Linked DNA regions of Homo sapiens: all the other regions are linked to region 4. Evidence: promoter capture Hi-C in human tissues and cell types (Jung and others, 2019). All regions are on one chromosome and are shown on one strand. Each heading gives the region's core, a stretch centred on a gene start or on the middle of the fragment in contact. The rest is flanking DNA. Distances are from core to core; before and after follow the strand shown.

Region 1 (2,700 bases), core at 18-2,517, 250 kb after region 4:
AGGTGGTCAACTGCCCAGAAGCCCTGCAGAGGCAGGCAGTTGGCCATGAGCAGAGAACAGCCAGGGCCTAACGCAGTGGGCCTGGAGGGAGGGGTCATGTCACTGAAAAGGAGCACAGCCAGCCCTGTGTGGCCTTGGGCTAGTCTCTCAGTTTCCTCGGGGGCCTCCACTGTAAAGTATCTTTGATGATACTTGTCTCATCACTCTCCCAGGATCTTGTGAGCATTCCAGGCAGGTGAGTCCTTGTCTGGAAAATTCCTCATCCTTCGGTCATCACTGTCACATCTTCCTGAAAGCCTTCCCTGATCCCCCAGTGATACGGCTCTGATGAGTGGAGGGACACCAGTGCTCCTGTCTCATGTCGAATTAGATAAGATGACACGGAAACACGTGGATTGGTTTTAAGGAGCAGAGAGTTTAGTAGGGAAGGAGGGGCAAGAAGGAAGGGAGAAGGAAGAAGCTCCCCTGTACAGAGACAGAGGGAGGGGGCTCCAAAGCCAAGAGAGGGAACCCCACCTGCCATGGATACCAGCCAGGTATATACAGAGGCTGGAGGAGGTGGTATCTGATTTGCATAGGACTCAAGGGATTGGTTTGACTAGGTATGTCATTCATGTACCCTGCAAAAAAGCTGGTCCTCCCACCCTAGCATTTTAATATGCAAATGCAGGGCACCATGTCCTGAGTAGCTGGGATTACAGGCATGCGCCACCACACCCGGCTAATTTTGTATTTTTAGTACATATGGGGTTTCTCCATGTTGGCCAGGCTGGTCCCGAACTCCCGACCTCTGGTGATCCGCCCGCCTTGGCCTCCCAAAGTGCTGGGATTACAGGCGTGAGCCACTGCGTTCTGCTGGGTAGACCCAGTTTTTTTAATGGCCTTCATTTGTATATCAAAGGTTGCCGACTGGCTCTAAGAACGGGGCTTTACCAGAAACTTCTGGAGATGCTTTAAAAAACGAAAATTTCCCAAGGACCTCTCCCTCTCTTATCTGCCTGAAATAGTTTCTTAATAACTCCTACAACACCAGTATCTGTGGATTCCCATAGCACCCTGTACTATATAAGTGAGAGCACTTACCACCTTCTGTTGGGATGGGTTATCTGTTTCCTTCTCTCCCTCACAACACTGTGAGTTTTGGAGGGCAGCAGACCATTGCTGTGTTGTTCATCACTGTGCATGTAAATAGTTACCAAATACTCACTGAATATTATTGAAAGTTTTTTTTTTTTTCCCCTGAGATGGAGTCTTGCTCTGTTGCCCAGGCTGGAGTGCAGTGGCACAATCTCGGCTCACTGCAACCTCTGCCTCCTGGGTTCAAGCCATTCTCCTGCCTCAGCCTCCCGAGTAGCTGGGATTACAGGCGACAGCTACTGCGCCCAGCTAATTTTTGTATTTTTAGTAGAGACGGAGTTTCACCATGTTGGCTGGTCTTGAACTCCTGACCTCTTGATCCGCCCACCTCGGCCTCCTAAAGTACTGGGATTACAGGCGTGAGCCACCATGCCCAGCCATTGAAAGCGTTTTGTGTTTTTGTTTGTTTGTTTATTTAATTGAGACAAGATCTCATCATGTTGCACAGGCTGGTCTTGAACTCCTGGGCTCAAGCAGTCCTGCCTTGGTCTCCCAAAGTGCTGGGATTACAGGTGTGAGCCACCACGCCTGGCTAAAAGTGTTTTGTAAATGATAAAAATTAAGCAAACTGTGTAGCTATTACAGTCATAATAAACCTGTAGACAGAGGACAAACAAAAATGAAGTAGTTCAATCGTTTATTCATTAAACAAATAGTGCCTACTATGTGTGGCACTGTGCTTGGTAGATCAGTAGTCAGACATGTACAGGATTTGCCTCATGGAGCTCAAAGCCTTGTCAGACGTGAATCCTACAAATGCGAAATGACAACTAGTACAAATGCTGCAAAGGAAGGACACAGAGAATCAGGAGAGCCTGTGACAGCCAGATTTCCCCTGGTCAGAGGAAGCTTGAGCTTGGAATTGAAGGATAAGGAAGAGTTTATCTAGGTGGAAAAGGTTGGGAAGAGCTCTCTAGCACAAGGAACTTTTATTTACAAGAATCCTGCATGAGGAGGAAGCAAGGCCAGTGTGAAGGACTGAAAAAGGCCAATGGTACTCCAGCTAGAGGAAGGTGCCAGGAGCCTAGAACAAGCAGACCCTACAGGGCATCAGAGGCCACATGAAGAAGCTTTGTCTTTATTTTTATGGCAGTGGCAGCTGAGATGGGTTGAGAGGGGATCAATATGATCAGTAGCCATTCTGATGGCTGAGGAACATGAGGAACTAATGTGAGTGCCTTCCTGCTTGTATGTGCCAGGCATCATCTTGGGCATGGTCCTGCCTCTTGAGGCAGTGTAGGCCACAAAGCTGTAATCGCTCAGGGCCTAACAGCAGGGGCAGTTGTCAGGCTCTGCCTCCCTACCATCATTTATGTCGCCCAAGTGCTATCTCTCCTCTAAAATCCCAGCTTAATCAAAATCATAACGCAATTCATGTCAGCACCGCCAGAACCAACTGGAATTTTTCTCCCAAGGAATTTTCCTGGAAACTGAGGAACAGAGATGAATCTAAGAATATTGAAAACAATCAAGCCAGTGTGTTACTGGGCTTCTAATATTCACTTAAGCTGCTTGCCTTGTACTTCCTGTTCTGTGTCTGCCTTTTTGAAAAAACCTCAGAAA
Region 2 (2,700 bases), core at 59-2,558, 140 kb after region 4:
TTACCCATCAACCATAGAATATATATTCTTCTCATCTGTACACGGAACATACTCCAAGATCAACCACATGCTTGACCATAAGGTAAGTCCCAATTAGAAAAAAAAGAAATACCACCAACCGTAGTCTCAGATCAGAGTGGAACAGAAACAGACATCAATACAAAGAAGATCTGTCAAAACCACACAATTACATACAAATTAAACAACTTGTTCCTGAAAAACTGTTGGCTAAACAATGAAATTAAGGTAGAAATCAAAAAATTCTTTGAACTAAATGAAAACAGAGACACAACATACCAAAATCTCTGGGATTCAGCAGAAGTGGTATTAAGAGGAAAGTTTATTATGCTAAATGCCTACCTCAAAAAGTTAGACAGATCTCAAATTAACAGTCCAACCTCACACCTGGAGGAACTAGAAAAACTAACCCCAAAGCTAGCAGAAGAAGAGAAATAACTAAAATCAGAGTATCACTGAATGAAATGGAGACCCAAAATCCATACAAAGAATCAATGAAACCAAAAATTGATTCTTTGAAAGGATAAACAAGATCCATAGACTGCTAGCTAGATAACAAGGAAAAAAACAGAGAAGATCCAAATAAGCACAATCAGAAATGACAAAAGTGACATTACAACCAATCCCACAGAAATACAAATTATTCTCAGACTATTATAAACACCTGTAGGCACACAAACTAGAAAATCTAGAGGAAGTTGAAAAATTCCTGGAAACACAAAATCTCCCAAGATTTAATCAGGAAGAAATTGAAATTCTGAACAGACCACTATAGGGTTCCAGAATTGAATCAGTACTTTTAAAAACCTGCTAATCCCAAAAAGCCCTGGACCAGATGAAGTCACAGCTGGATTGTACCAGACATAAAAAGAAGAACTGGTACTAATCCTATGGAAACCGTTCCAAAAAATTGAGGAAGAGGTACTCCTCCCTAACTCCTCCTCCTGCCCTATGAAGCCAGCATCACCCTGATTCCAAAACCTGGCAAAGATACAATGAAAAAAGAATACTTCAGGCCAATATCCCTGATGAACATGGACACAAAAATCTTCAACAAAGTACTAGCAAACTGAAACCAGCTAATTCGCTATGATCAAGTAGGCTTCATTCCTGGGACGAAAGGCTGGTTCAACATACATGAACCAATAAGCGTGATTCACCAGACAAACAAAATTAAAAGCAGAATCCATATGATCATCCCAATAGACACAGAAAAGCTTTTGATAAAATTTAACATCCCATCATGATGAAAACTCTCAAGAAACTAGGCATCAAAGGAACGTACCACAAAATAATATGGGCCATCTATGACAAACCCACAACCTATATCATACTGAATGGACAAAAACTTGGAGCATTCCCCTTGAGAGCTGGAACAAGACAAGCATACTTAACTTTCACCACTCCTTTCAACATAGTACTGGAAGTCCTAGCCAGAGCAATCAGGCAAGAGAAAGAAATAAAAGGCATCCCACGGCCAGGTGCGGTGGCTCACGCCTGTAATCCCAGCACTTTGGGAGGCTGAGGCAGGCAGATCACAAGGTCAGGAGATCAAGACCATCCTGGCTAACATGGTGAAACCTGGTCTCCACTAAAAATACAAAAAATTAGCTGGGCGTGGTGGCGGGCACCTGTACTCCCAGCTACTCAGGAGGCTGAGGCAGGAGAATCACTTGAACCCGGGAGGTGGAGCTTGCAGTGAGCCGAGATCACGCCACTGCACTCCAGCCTGGGCAACAGAGCAAGACTCCATCTCAAAAAAAAAAAAAAAAAAAAGGCATCCCAATAGGCAAAGAAGTCAAACTATTTCTGTTTGCAGACGACATGATTTTATAACTAGAAAACTCTAAAGACTTTACCAAAAAGCTCCTGAAACTGATAAACCACTTCAGTAAAGTTTTGGAATACAAAATCAACATAGAAAAATTAGTAGCATTCCTATACACCAAAACTGTTCAAGCTGAGAGTCAAATCAAGAATACAATCCCATTTACAATAGTCACAAAAAGAATAAAATACTTAGGAATACATCTAACCAAGGAGGTGAAAGACCTATACAAGAAGAACTACAAAACACTGCTGAAATAAATTATAGATGACACAGACAATGGAAAAACATTCCATGTTCATGGATTGGGAGAATCAATATTGTTAAAATGGCCATATTGCCCAAAGCAACCTACAGATTCAATGGTATTCCTATCGAGATACCAATGTAATTTTTCACAAAACTAGAAAAAAACTATTCCAGAATTCATATGGAACAAAAAAAGAGTCTAAATAGCCAATGCAATTCTAAGCAAAAAGAACAAAGCCAGAGGCATCACATTACCCAACTTCACACTATACTATAAGGCTACAGTAACCAAAACACCATGGTACTGATACAAAAACAGACACATAGACCAATGAAGCAGAATAAAGAACCCAGAAATGGCCCGGCACGGTGGCTCATGCCTGTAATCCCAGCACTTTGGGAGGCTGAGGCGGGTGGATCACAAGGTCAGGAGATCGAGACCATCCTGGCTAACACGGTGAAACCCCGTCTCTACTAAAAAAAAATACAAAAAAATTAGCCAGCGTGGTGGCAGGTGCCTGTAGTCCCAGCTACTTGGGAGGCTGAGGCAGGAGAATGGCATGAACCTGGGAGGTGGAGCTTGCAGTGAGTGGAGATTGCACCAC
Region 3 (2,700 bases), core at 98-2,597, 200 kb before region 4:
ACCCAGCTAATATTTTATTTTCCTTTTTTATAGAGATAGGGTCTTGCTATTTTGCCCAGGCTGCCTCAAACCTCGAATTCCTGGGCTCAGCAATCCTCCCACATCAGCCTTCCAAAATGTGGGGATCACAGGTGTCAGCCACTGTGCCAAGCCAACTAGTCATTTCTTTTGCTGGTTTTGCCTGAGGTTACTCAAGCAATTACTTTCAGCTAGAGGACTGGCCAGAGGGCTGGGCTCAGCTGTGATGGCTGGGTCTTTTCCCCATGTGGTCTTTCATCAGCATATAGGTTAAACTGGACTTCCCCAGCATGGTGGCAGCATATTTCAAGAAGTCAGATCCAAATAGCACTTACTGAGGGTCCTCTGTTTCCATTAAATTGGCAAATGCCCCACTAGCCAAAGCAAATCACATGGACAAGCCCAGAATCATGGTGGGAGTGGACTACATGGATACCAGGAAGCATGATTATTTGGGAACCTTTAATATAATGGTTTACCACAGTTGGTGTGACCTTGATTAAATCATTTTTCTCATCTATAAAATGGAGTTTTGGGGCTAGGGATGGTGGCTGACACCTCTAATTCCAGCATTTTGGGAGGCCAGGGCAGGAGGGCGGAAGGATCGTTTGAGGCCAGGAGTTTGATACCAACCAGGCAGCATAGCAAGACCCCATCTCTACAAAAAACTTTAACATTAGATGTGGTGGCATATGCTTCTGGTCCCAACTGCTCAGGAGAAATCCAAGGTTACAGTGAGCTATTATTGCACCACTGCACTCTAGCCTGGGCAGCAGAGCGAGACTCTGTCAAATAAATAATAGCTAGCTAGATAGATAGATAGAGTTTATAATATTGACCCCTAGAATTGTTTTGTGAATTAAATGAAATATATGATGATATAGTTCCTAGTACCTATGATAAAAGCTGTTTGGAGCTTTTTTTTAAGGTACCAAAGATGGAGTAGCAAATACTATTATCTACCATTATTGATTCTATTCTACAAGTAAACCACTGTCCTAAATAGTAATACATTACACACAGTCCTTGTCCTTAGAGAAGAGATATGTTAAAGGCAAATGAATTAGTCCAAATTAGATTTACAGACTTGAAATTCAACTATAGCTTTACACTTATATGTGTTTATGTTAAATGTTGTGTTAAAATCTAGGTAATTGACTGTGTTTATAAACCAAGATTATGTATCCTAAAAGATCTGGATTTTTAAAATACTATTTTTAAAAGCTCTGTCTCTTTAAAGCTTCCAAAAATGATTTGGTCAAGTAGTATCTGGAATGCCATCAAGTTTACAGAGAGCTATACTCTGAAAATTTTTAATAAGTTGGCAAATCATGAAAATTCATTTGAAAACACTAGAAAGTTCTGCTTTTAGACAATTTTTAACTTATAAGCAACTGAAATCCTAAAGGGAAGATAGCAGTGTTTAATTCTGGGACTGCAGTCTAAATCTGAGTTGGCAAATACCATGTTTATCTGTTGTTTGATAAAATACTGACAAAATCTTATAAAAACTGGATTACTTGAATAACTGCTTTGAGAAAATAGAATGTAGTGAATACTTCTCTCTTTTCTGCTTCAGCAATTAAATGACTTGCATATGTGATTTCTAAGAAAGAGCTTGTTGGTTCACTCTTTTAAAAAACAAAAATAAAAACATTTCATTGTTTTAAAATGAATACTAGAGGTCAGGCACAGTGGCTCGCACCTGTAATCCCAGCATTTTGGGAGGCTGAGGCAGGAGGATCACTTGAAGCCAGAAGTTCAAGACCAGCCTAGGCAACATAGTGAGACAGCTGTCTCTACAAAAAATTTTAAAAAATTAGCCAGGCATGGTGGCATGCACCTGTAGTCCTAGCTACTGGGAAGGCTACAGTAGGAGGATCACTTGAGCCCAGCAGTTCGAGGCTGCAGTGAGCTATTGTCATACCACCGCATTCCAGCTTGGGCAACAGTGAGACCCTGTCTCTTAAAAAAGCAAAAGCATACTACAATGGTGCTAGGGCAAGTGGATATCCATATGCAAAAGAATGAAGTTTGACCCTGTTAAAAGATAAACTTAGGCACATTAAATTTTTTTTTATTTGAGAAAATAGTGATAATTACTTGGGCAGCACCAGATCATATGCAGTTCAGGGTTCCACCAATGGAACACCAGAGGAATGCTTTTATAGGGTGAACTCAGAAGCAAAACAAAGCAAATATTTGATTGGTTAAAGTGGCACGGTAGTATCCTTTTTTGGATCATTCCAGTGGAAGGTTTCTAGTTAGAAGGTAGTTGGCAGTTTTTGATTGGTTAAGCTTCAGTTTTGTTTTACCATTTATACTGAGTTGAGTTTTGGTTTGCTTACGTAGGAACCCGGGATGCTGGAGCTGCCTCAGTTTAATGACCTTCCAGTTAATTATCTTAACAACCCCACTTTACATCATATATACAAACTAACTCAAAATGAATACCTAAATGTAACAGCGAAAGCTAATAAACTTACAAAAAAAACCACAGGGGTAAGTCTTTGTGGCCTTGGATTAGTTTCTTAGATATAACACCAAAGCCTAAGCAGCAAAAGAAAAACTAGATAAATTAGACATCATCAAAATTTAAAACTTTCATGTTTCAAATGACACTATCAAGAAAATGAAAGACAGCCCACAGAATGGGGGAAAATATTTGCAAATCATGTATCT
Region 4 (2,700 bases), core at 49-2,548:
AGCTCAGAGAGATGGGGTTGCTGTGGAGGGTTTGCTGTAGCTCCTCTACCCTGGAATATACCCTCTTCTGCCTTAAAAGACCCAGCTTGGACCCTCTCTTCCAGAAATGCTTGCTAACCGCCCCCCCACCACCCAAACTAGGTCAGGGGTCCCTCTGGGCTTCACAGACCCTGTGCTTCTTTCTGTCACAGCCTGCAAGTCTCCCCTCCCCACTCCCCAGCCCGAGTGCTTCTCTGAGACAAGGGATAGTGTGAGCCATGAGCTCAGCCACTGGTAGGCCAATGAATAAGTAAGTTAATGGTGAAGCCAGGATCCAAATCCCCATTTCCTGCCTCAAGGTGTGGAGCTGTTTCTCCTGCATACAATAGTAGCTCTGCTGTGACAACTCTCTATCTGTCCTAGGGCCTAAAATGCCTCTATTTCACTAGGTTATAGCTTTATCCTAGGGAGTCCTCTTTGGAAGCAGGGTGGGGGTGCAACAGGCCTTCCCCCATGCCTGTAGTCTGTGAGCAGCGAAGGCCATGTGGGGCAGGCTGTGGCCTAGGTCTCCACAGATCCTGGTAGAAGTCCATGCTCACGCATCAGCTCCAAGTCCCAGCTAAACCAAGCCACCAAGAGGTGGGCCCTGTGACAAGGCTCTGAGTCCAAAGGCCATCAGTAAAGCCCCCTAAGTCTTCCGTGGACCCAGCTCCAGGCTGGGATGCACGCTAGGAGATGATACACACCGGGTGAGGGAGCCCAGAGGAGAGGGCAGCTAGCTGTGCATGGAGGCCTGATCTCTCAGACTTGAGGGCACAAGCGTGTCCCCTCATCCTGAAGGCTTCTGCGATGGGGCAGCAGAGGGTCTGGGTCTGCTGCCCCTCAAGTCCCCAGCCCCATCCTAGCCCATGAGGATTGTAAATCCCTCGTCCTCTCCCCTCTCTCCTCTGTCAGCCACTCCCCTTTCCCCCTACCCCACTCTCTTTCTATTTCTGCCTCTGATTTTTTTTCCTTTTCTGCCTTTGTTCCTCTGTGTGTGTGTTTCTCTATGCCTCTCTGGTCTCTTTGTACTTCCATCTTGATCTCGCTAAGGCTCTGATCCCTCTCTCCTCTCCCTCTTCATGTGTTACTGTCCCCCTTCCTGTCTCTGTTTATCTCTCAGTCTCTCTGTCTGTGAGTCTTTTTTCCTCTCTCCCAGTCAGACTCTCTCTCTACCCCTCCCTCTCTCCCTCTCTCCCTCTCTGTCTGGGCCTCTCTCTGTTCCTCCTCCCTCCTCCCTCCCCCTTCTGCATTATCAGACCTGCTCCAACCTCCTCCCAGAGCCAGCCGAGCAGCAGAGGCAGTGGCAGCGGGAGAGGCGGGAGCAGCGGGGCAGCAGAGCTGGATTGGGGTGTTGAGTCCAGGCTGAGTAGGGGGCAGCCCACTGCTCTTGGTCCCTGTGCCTGCTGGGGGTGCCCTGCCCTGAACTCCAGGCAGCGGGGACAGGGCGAGGTGCCACCTTAGTCTGGCTGGGGAGGCGGACGATGAGGAGTGATGGGGCAGGCATGCGGCCACTCCATCCTCTGCAGGAGCCAGCAGTACCCGGCAGCGCGACCGGCTGAGCCGTGAGTATAGTGAGGGGCTGGGGTGGTGAGCGGCTGTGAGAGGTGCCACAGACAGGGTCCTGGGAGTCCCTCCAAGGAGCTGGGGTTGGCATGGAGCTGAGCCACGTGGAAGGATCGATCCTGTTCCTGGGCACCCCTCCTCCCCGCGTTGCCAGACTGCAGCCTGGGGTGGGGGCAGGTTACCTCTGAGCAGAATGAGGGTGTCTAACGTCAACCTAGTAGGTGATGAGGCTGGGGTCCCATGGAAGGGGCTGCTGGTTGGAGGAGGGGCTGATAATGAACCTGAACCGGTTCTTCAAGGGCTGAGGGTGTATGTGGGGAGGGGGAGGTCTGCCAAGTAGTTGGGAGGAGCTCTCGGGGCTGCAATAGGCTGGTTCAGGACCCGGAGAGGGAGAGTGTCTTGGCCCACCAAGGCTATGTGTGTGTGAAGGAGGTGGGGAGGGGGAAAGATGGAGAAAATATGAATAAGAGTGGCCCTGGAGCAAGAGAGGGTTAGAGGTAACCACCTTCCATGGAATTGGGAATTGGGGTTCAGGGACACCACTTTATGAAACTTTACCCCAAAGCGTCTGTCCCAGGATAGGGTTCTACGGAGCCAGATGGAATATGGTGCCAGCCTCGTGTGTGTCCACGTGCAGGGGGGTGCATGTGCAAGTGAGTGGGGGGCGCCGTGGCGACACCCCTCTACTAAGGGCTGCCGAGGTGGTAGGCAGGGTATGTGTGTGTGTGTGTGTGTGTATACATGTGGAATGTAAGGGACATGTTGGGTGTAGAGGGGCCTGTAGAGCTCTAGGGTCCTTGGTGGTTGGATGTAAAGCAGCCTGTCAGAGTTTGTGATCATCCCTGTGTGAGTGAGAGTTTATTCGCATGTGTCTGAGTGTGAGTGCAGGTTGGTCTGCATATGTATGTAGGTGTGTCTATTAGGTTGAGTTTGTATATTATGTGTGTTGTGTCTGCAAAATAGAGTGAATCAGTGTGCATTTTTTATCTGTTCCATGTGCATTTATGTGTGTGTATTTGTTAGTGTGTGAATAATAGCATTGCTGTGTGTGGAGGTGGATGTGGCTGTGTGCGTATAAGTATTCTGGTGTGGGTGTGTGATCATGGTGCTAGTGTG
Region 5 (2,700 bases), core at 181-2,680, 170 kb after region 4:
TGCAATGAACTCCTCTGTGCACACAAACTAGAAAACCTAGAAGAAATGGTTAAATTCCTAGAAACATGCAACCTGCCAAGATTGAACAAGGAATAAATTGAATCCTTGGAGACCAGTAATGAGTTCCAAAAGTGAATCAGTAATAAAAAGCTTACCAACAAGAAAAAGCCCAGGACCAAAGAAATTCACAGCCAAATTCTACCAAATGTATGAAGAAGAGCTGGTACCATTCCTACTGAAGCTATTCCAAAAAACTGAGAAGGAAGGACTCCGCCTTAACTCTTTCTTTGAGGCCAACATCATTCTGATACCAAAACCTGGCAAAGACACACAAAAAAAGAAAACTTCAGGCCAATATCCTTGATGAACATAGATGTAAAAATCCTCAACAAAGTACTAGCAACCTGAATCCAGCAACACATCAAAAAGCTAATCCACCACTCAAGACCTCATCTCTGCTCTCCCTCTCCCTCTCCCTCTCCCTCTCCCCCTCCCCCTCCCCACAGTCTCCCTCTCTTTCCATGGTCTCCCTCTCTTTCCACGGTCTCCCTCTCTTTCCACGGTCTCCCTCTCATGCGGAGCCGAAGCTGGACTGTACTGCTGCCATCTCGGCTCACTGCAACCTCCCTGCCTGATTCTCCTGCCTCAGCCTGCCCAGTGCCTGCGATTGCAGGCACGCGCCGCCATGCCTGACTGGTTTTGGTGGAGATGGGGTTTCGCTGTGTTGGCCGGGCGGGTCTCCAGCCCCTAACCGCGAGTGATCCGCCAGCCTCGGCCTCCCGAGGTGCCGGGATTGCAGACGGAATGTCGTTCACTCAGTGCTCAATGGTGCCCAGGCTGGAGTGCAGTGGCGTGATCTCGGCTCGCTACAACCTCCACCTCCCAGCCGCCTGCCTTGGCCTCCCAAAGTGCCGAGATTGCAGCCTCTGCCCGGCCACCACCCCGTCTGGGAAGTGAGGAGTGTCTCTGCCTGGCCGCCCATCGTCTGGGATGTGAGGAGCCCCTCTGCCTGGCTGCCTAGTCTGGAAAGTGAGGAGCGTCTCAGCCCGGCCGCCATCCCATCTAGGAAGTGAGGAGCGCCTCTTCCCGGTCACCATCACATCTAGGAAGTGAGGAGCGTCTCTGCCCGCCGCCCATCGTCTGAGATGTGGGGAGCGCCTCTGCCCCACCGCCCCATCTGGGATGTGAGGAGCGCCTCTGCCCAGCCGCGACCCCGTCTGGGAGGTGAGGAGCGTCTCTGCCCGGCCGCCCCATCTGAGAAGTGAGGAGACCCTCCGCCTGGCAGCCACCCCGTCTGAGAAGTGAGGAGCCCCTCCGCCCGGCAGCTGCCCCATCTGAGAAGTGAGGAGCCTCTCTGCCCGGCAGCCACCCCATCTGGGAAGTGAGGAGCGTCTCCGCCCGGCAGCCACCCCGTCCGGGAGGGAGGTGGCGGGGGTCAGCCCCCCGCCCGGCCAGCCGCCCAGTCCGGGAGGGAGGTGGGGGGTCAGCCCCCCGCCCGGCCAGCCGCCCCGTCCGGGAGGGAGGTGGGGGGTCAGCCCCCCGCCAGGCCAGCCGCCCCGTCAGGGAGGGAGGTGGGGGGTCAGCCCCCCCGCCCAGCCAGCCGCCCCGTCTGGGAGGTGAGGGGCGCCTCTGCCCGGCCGCCCCTACTGGGAAGTGAGGAGACCCTCTGCCCGGCCAGCTGCCCCGTCCGGGAGGGAGGTGGGGGGTCAGCCCCCCGCCCGGCCAGCTGCCCCGTCCGGGAGGTGAGGGGCACCTCTGCCCGGCCGCCCCTACTGGGAAGTGAGGAGCCCCTCTGCCCGGCCAGCCGCCCCATCCGGGAGGGAGGTGGGGGGGTCAGCCCCCCGCCCGGCCAGCCGCCCCGTCCGGGAGGGAGGTGGGGGGGTCAGCCCCCCTGCCCGGCCAGCCGCCCCGTCCCGGAGGGAGGTGGGGGGTCAGCCCCCCGCCCGGCCAGCCGCCCCGTCCGGGAGGTGAGGGGCGCCTCTGCCGGGCCGCCCCTACTGGGAAGTGAGGAGCCCCTCTGCCCGGCCACCACCCCGTCTGGGAGGTGTGCCCAACAGCTCATTGAGAATGGGCCAGGATGACAATGGCGGCTTTGTGGAATAGAAAGGCGGGAAGGGTGGGGAAAAAATTGAGAAATCGGATGGTTGCCGTGTCTGTGTAGAAAGAAGTAGACATGGGAGACTTTTCATTTTGTTCTGCACTAAGAAAAATTCTTCTGCCTTGGGATCTTGTTGATCTGTGACCTTACCCCCAACCCTGTGCTCTCTGAAACATGTGCTGTGTCCACTCAGGGTTAAATGGATTAAGGGCGGTGCAAGATGTGCTTTGTTAAACAGATGCTTGAAGGCAGCATGCTCATTAAGAGTCATCACCACTCCCTAATCTCAAGTAATCAGGGACACAAACACTGCGGAAGGCCGCAGGGTCCTCTGCCTAGGAAAACCAGAGACCTTTGTTCACTTGTTTATCTGCTGACCTTCCCTCCACTATTGTCCCATGACCCTGCCAAATCCCCCTCTGTGAGAAACACCCAAGAATTATCAATAAAAAAATAAATGAAAAAAAAAAAAAAAGCTAATCCACCACAATCAAGCAGGCTTTATCTCTGGGATGCAAGGTTGGTTCAACATATGCAAATCATTATATGTAATTCATGACATAAACAGAAACAAAAACAAAACACACATGATCATCTTAATA
Region 6 (2,700 bases), core at 73-2,572, 150 kb before region 4:
AGTGATGCTAGAAGAGGGTCACCTGGTAGACTCAGGGACCTGCTCTTCAAGGGCCTGTCCCTGTAGGACCTCATGATAGGGGACCCCCACCAATCCCCATCAGGGACCATCTGAACTCAGCCCTCCCCATCCTGCAAATCTGGACCCTAGGAGCCAGGAGGCTCCACCCTTCTTCAGAACAGTGAGCCCAGAGTCTCACTCTTTCCAAGGCATTGTCTAGTCACTGCCCACAGAATATTCCAGATAGAGAAACACAAAGAGATCCAAGACCTCTGCCCACCAAGGAGTGAGCTGAGGAGAGGGTCTGGAGAGAAGCACCAAGTTGGCCGGCAGGGGAGGGCTCCTTACTTCCCACAACATTCCAGAGGTGGATCAGGCGGTCAGCCCCTCCAGTGGCCAGGAGGCTGCTGTTGGGGCCAAAACGAACAGCATTGACCTCAGAGAGGTGGGCATCCTGTGGGGAAAGGGGAGGTTGGTGCCCCGGCCCTCCCCGCGCATGTCTCTGTGAGTGCTCACGGGCCCTCTTACCGGTGCCTGTGCAGACACAGCCTGCTGCAGACGTGGTATCTCCCTCCCCAGTTTCTCTGTCCACACTCTGAGTTTCAAACCCGGCCCCACCAGGTGTTCTCACCTCTGCCTGGACCCCTGCAGCAGCCTCCGTGCTATGCTACTCTACTCTCCTGCCTGGCCTCCTGGCCTCCCAGCCTCCTCTCTCTCCCTCCCCGGCTTATGCCCACATCATAACATGCTTGAGTGGCTCCCACCACAGGCTGTGGGAGGCAGCCTCCTGCTCCTGCTGAGGAGCCCAGCCTTGCTTCCCTGGCCTCTTGGGACCACCCCTGGTGCCGAGACCACCCCTGTGCCTGCACTCTCTCACCACTGCCCCACCCATGTGGCTCAGCTCCTCCCTTACCAGCACATCCTGAGCCCGGGTAGGAAGTCGGGCAGCCACACACACAGGGATGATCTGGTATCGCTGCTCAGGGGCTCCCCCAATTGAGTGACCTCTCCTCTTCTTAAAACTGGGGTAAGGTGGGTTGGGGTCAGGAGGGCATTCAGCAAGTCCTTCTCAGGTGGGAGCCTCCAGCTCCCCTGAGGCATCAACCATAGGAAGCAGACATGGCAGGCGGCAGAACATGGCCCCAAGGAGCAGCGAGAGCATTCCCCAACCCAGCCTCGACCCCAGGGGTTGGTGTGGAGACGGGGTGGGGAGCACACAGAGGCAGACACAGGAGCAGGGTAGGGTTGGTGGGTGCAAAGAAACCTCAGGGCCGGGGTTTCAATCCCAGTCTTGCCACTGCTTGGCTCTGTGACTCTGAATGAGTCCCTGACATTTCAGAGCATTTTTCCCAATTGAGTAGGAGCTCCTGCCCTGCCTGAGGCTGGAGCTCTTGGTCCCCTGTGACGACCTTGGATGAAGACAGACCCTTGTGAGGACAGAACCTGGAAGACAGCTGAACCGGGGCCGGGGCTGAGGCCATTCACCTGGCTCCTGTCTCCAAGGCCCAACAGACTCACAGGCAGACAGCTGCACATCACAGGGATGGACAGGTCGAGGCACAGACACAGACCAAGCCTGGGCTGGGGAGCCCGACACACACGTGGGTGCACACACAGGCACACACACACTTACTCCAGAAGCCCCTTCACCACATCCACACAGTGGGACAGCGTCAGGGAGGTGGCTGAGGCAGACCTGAGACAAAACCAAGAGAGATATGCTAAGGGACTGGCTGGTGTGTGTACAAATGGCTGTCCATCATCTCCACACTTTGCCAGAGACCTGGAGGCTTGTAACCTCTCAAGTCTGGGATAAGAACTTGACTTCTCCAAGATCAGGAGACCAGGGTGACCCAGATCAGTCCCAGGAAGGTCGGGGCAGCAATGGATTTGGTAATGAAAGTCTCCCAAGGTCTCCCTCATGATGGGAAGAACTGCCTTACCCTACTAGTACCCACCAACAAAAGTTCCTGGGAAGCTGAGCCGGGGCCTACAGGGAGGAGAGACGCTGAAGGTTCCCCCAGGCTGGGGATGGGAGGAGGGGGGAGCCTAGGCTCACTGGGTGACCTCAGCAATGCCCAGGAGAGGGTGTGTCCTACAATGACTTGGCCCACAAGGGCTCCCAAGGACTTTGGGGACTGGCATCTCATGCCCCTCCCCACGGTTTCTTCACTGCCCCAAGGCCTGGACACCAGGGACCTGCAAGGAAAGACTGAGAAGAGGTGTTAGGCTGGGGAATGGCGCCCAGAGCGGGCAGCCTCAATGACAGGCAAATCAAGAAGGATGGAGGAGACCCTGCGGACAGGCACCCAAGGTCTGAAGCCCCAATCAGGTCCCACAAGTGTGAGCACACATCTACACATGCTTATATATTCACACATACAGACGGGCTCAGTCAAGCTTGTACACACCTGTGGCCTCATGTCCCTGCGGATGCACATGCTTGCACACCTATGGCTGCGCACACATGCCTGGCATGACTGGGCTCTGGGCTTTGCCCACAGGTTCTCTCCTGGTGACAGCTATTCAGAAGCCTGACTCCCCACCCCCAGAGCTCTGATCCCAAGAAGGAGGGAAAGGGTTGAGGGTAGGGGTTGGGGGGGTGAGATGGAACTGACCCCAAGTGGCTCCAGACAATGGAGGTCAGACTAGCCCTGGGAGATCTGAGCTTTCTGGCCTCTCCTCAAGCCCCCTCCCAAC

What was found. The method cuts DNA at HindIII sites, captures the fragments that hold promoters and counts their contacts. A contact is called where the count stands out against the background at its distance.
Region 1: a contact is called between a fragment that was not itself captured here and the fragment with the promoter of PDE2A in region 4, in 3 of the 25 tissues and cell types used here (dorsolateral prefrontal cortex, lymphoblastoid cells and spleen).
Region 2: a contact is called between a fragment that was not itself captured here and the fragment with the promoter of PDE2A in region 4, in 2 of the 25 tissues and cell types used here (IMR-90 fibroblasts and spleen).
Region 3: a contact is called between a fragment that was not itself captured here and the fragment with the promoter of PDE2A in region 4, in 2 of the 25 tissues and cell types used here (mesenchymal stem cells and thymus).
Region 5: a contact is called between a fragment that was not itself captured here and the fragment with the promoter of PDE2A in region 4, in 1 of the 25 tissues and cell types used here (bladder).
Region 6: a fragment that was not itself captured here is called in contact with the fragment with the promoter of PDE2A in region 4 in 1 of the 25 tissues and cell types used here (spleen).

Annotation. Positions count from the first base shown.
Region 1 is chr11:72,419,035-72,421,734 of GRCh38, reverse strand. The region is part of intron 2 of CLPB (ClpB family mitochondrial disaggregase); the gene reads left to right. Among named protein-coding and RNA genes, the nearest start is that of CLPB, 14 kb to the left of the region's middle. RefSeq lists enhancers at 1-961, 1,644-2,330, 2,331-2,700. The HindIII fragment of the contact is 5,670 bases long and covers 1-2,700 here.
Region 2 is chr11:72,530,967-72,533,666 of GRCh38, reverse strand. All of the region lies in intron 1 of LOC105369376 (a long non-coding RNA gene), which reads left to right. Among named protein-coding and RNA genes, the nearest start is that of LINC01537, 38 kb to the left of the region's middle. The HindIII fragment of the contact is 4,496 bases long and covers 1-2,700 here.
Region 3 is chr11:72,873,491-72,876,190 of GRCh38, reverse strand. All of the region lies in intron 12 of FCHSD2 (FCH and double SH3 domains 2), which reads left to right. Among named protein-coding and RNA genes, the nearest start is that of ATG16L2, 60 kb to the right of the region's middle. The HindIII fragment of the contact is 4,492 bases long and covers 1-2,700 here.
Region 4 is chr11:72,673,020-72,675,719 of GRCh38, reverse strand. PDE2A (phosphodiesterase 2A) reads left to right here and starts at 1,298. Exons shown (of 31, transcript NM_002599.5): 1 at 1,298-1,583. The coding sequence starts at 1,513. RefSeq lists enhancers at 1-74, 225-849, 850-1,476, 1,477-2,102, 2,103-2,700. The HindIII fragment of the contact is 13,863 bases long and covers 1-2,700 here.
Region 5 is chr11:72,501,378-72,504,077 of GRCh38, reverse strand. No RefSeq gene overlaps it. Among named protein-coding and RNA genes, the nearest start is that of LINC01537, 68 kb to the left of the region's middle. The HindIII fragment of the contact is 3,554 bases long and covers 1-2,700 here.
Region 6 is chr11:72,823,056-72,825,755 of GRCh38, reverse strand. It overlaps ATG16L2 (autophagy related 16 like 2), which reads right to left. Exons shown (of 18, transcript NM_033388.2): 8 at 1,634-1,696; 9 at 914-1,022; 10 at 349-454. Among named protein-coding and RNA genes, the nearest start is that of ATG16L2, 10 kb to the right of the region's middle. RefSeq lists enhancers at 2,379-2,498, 2,549-2,658, 2,699-2,700. The HindIII fragment of the contact is 3,926 bases long and covers 1-2,700 here.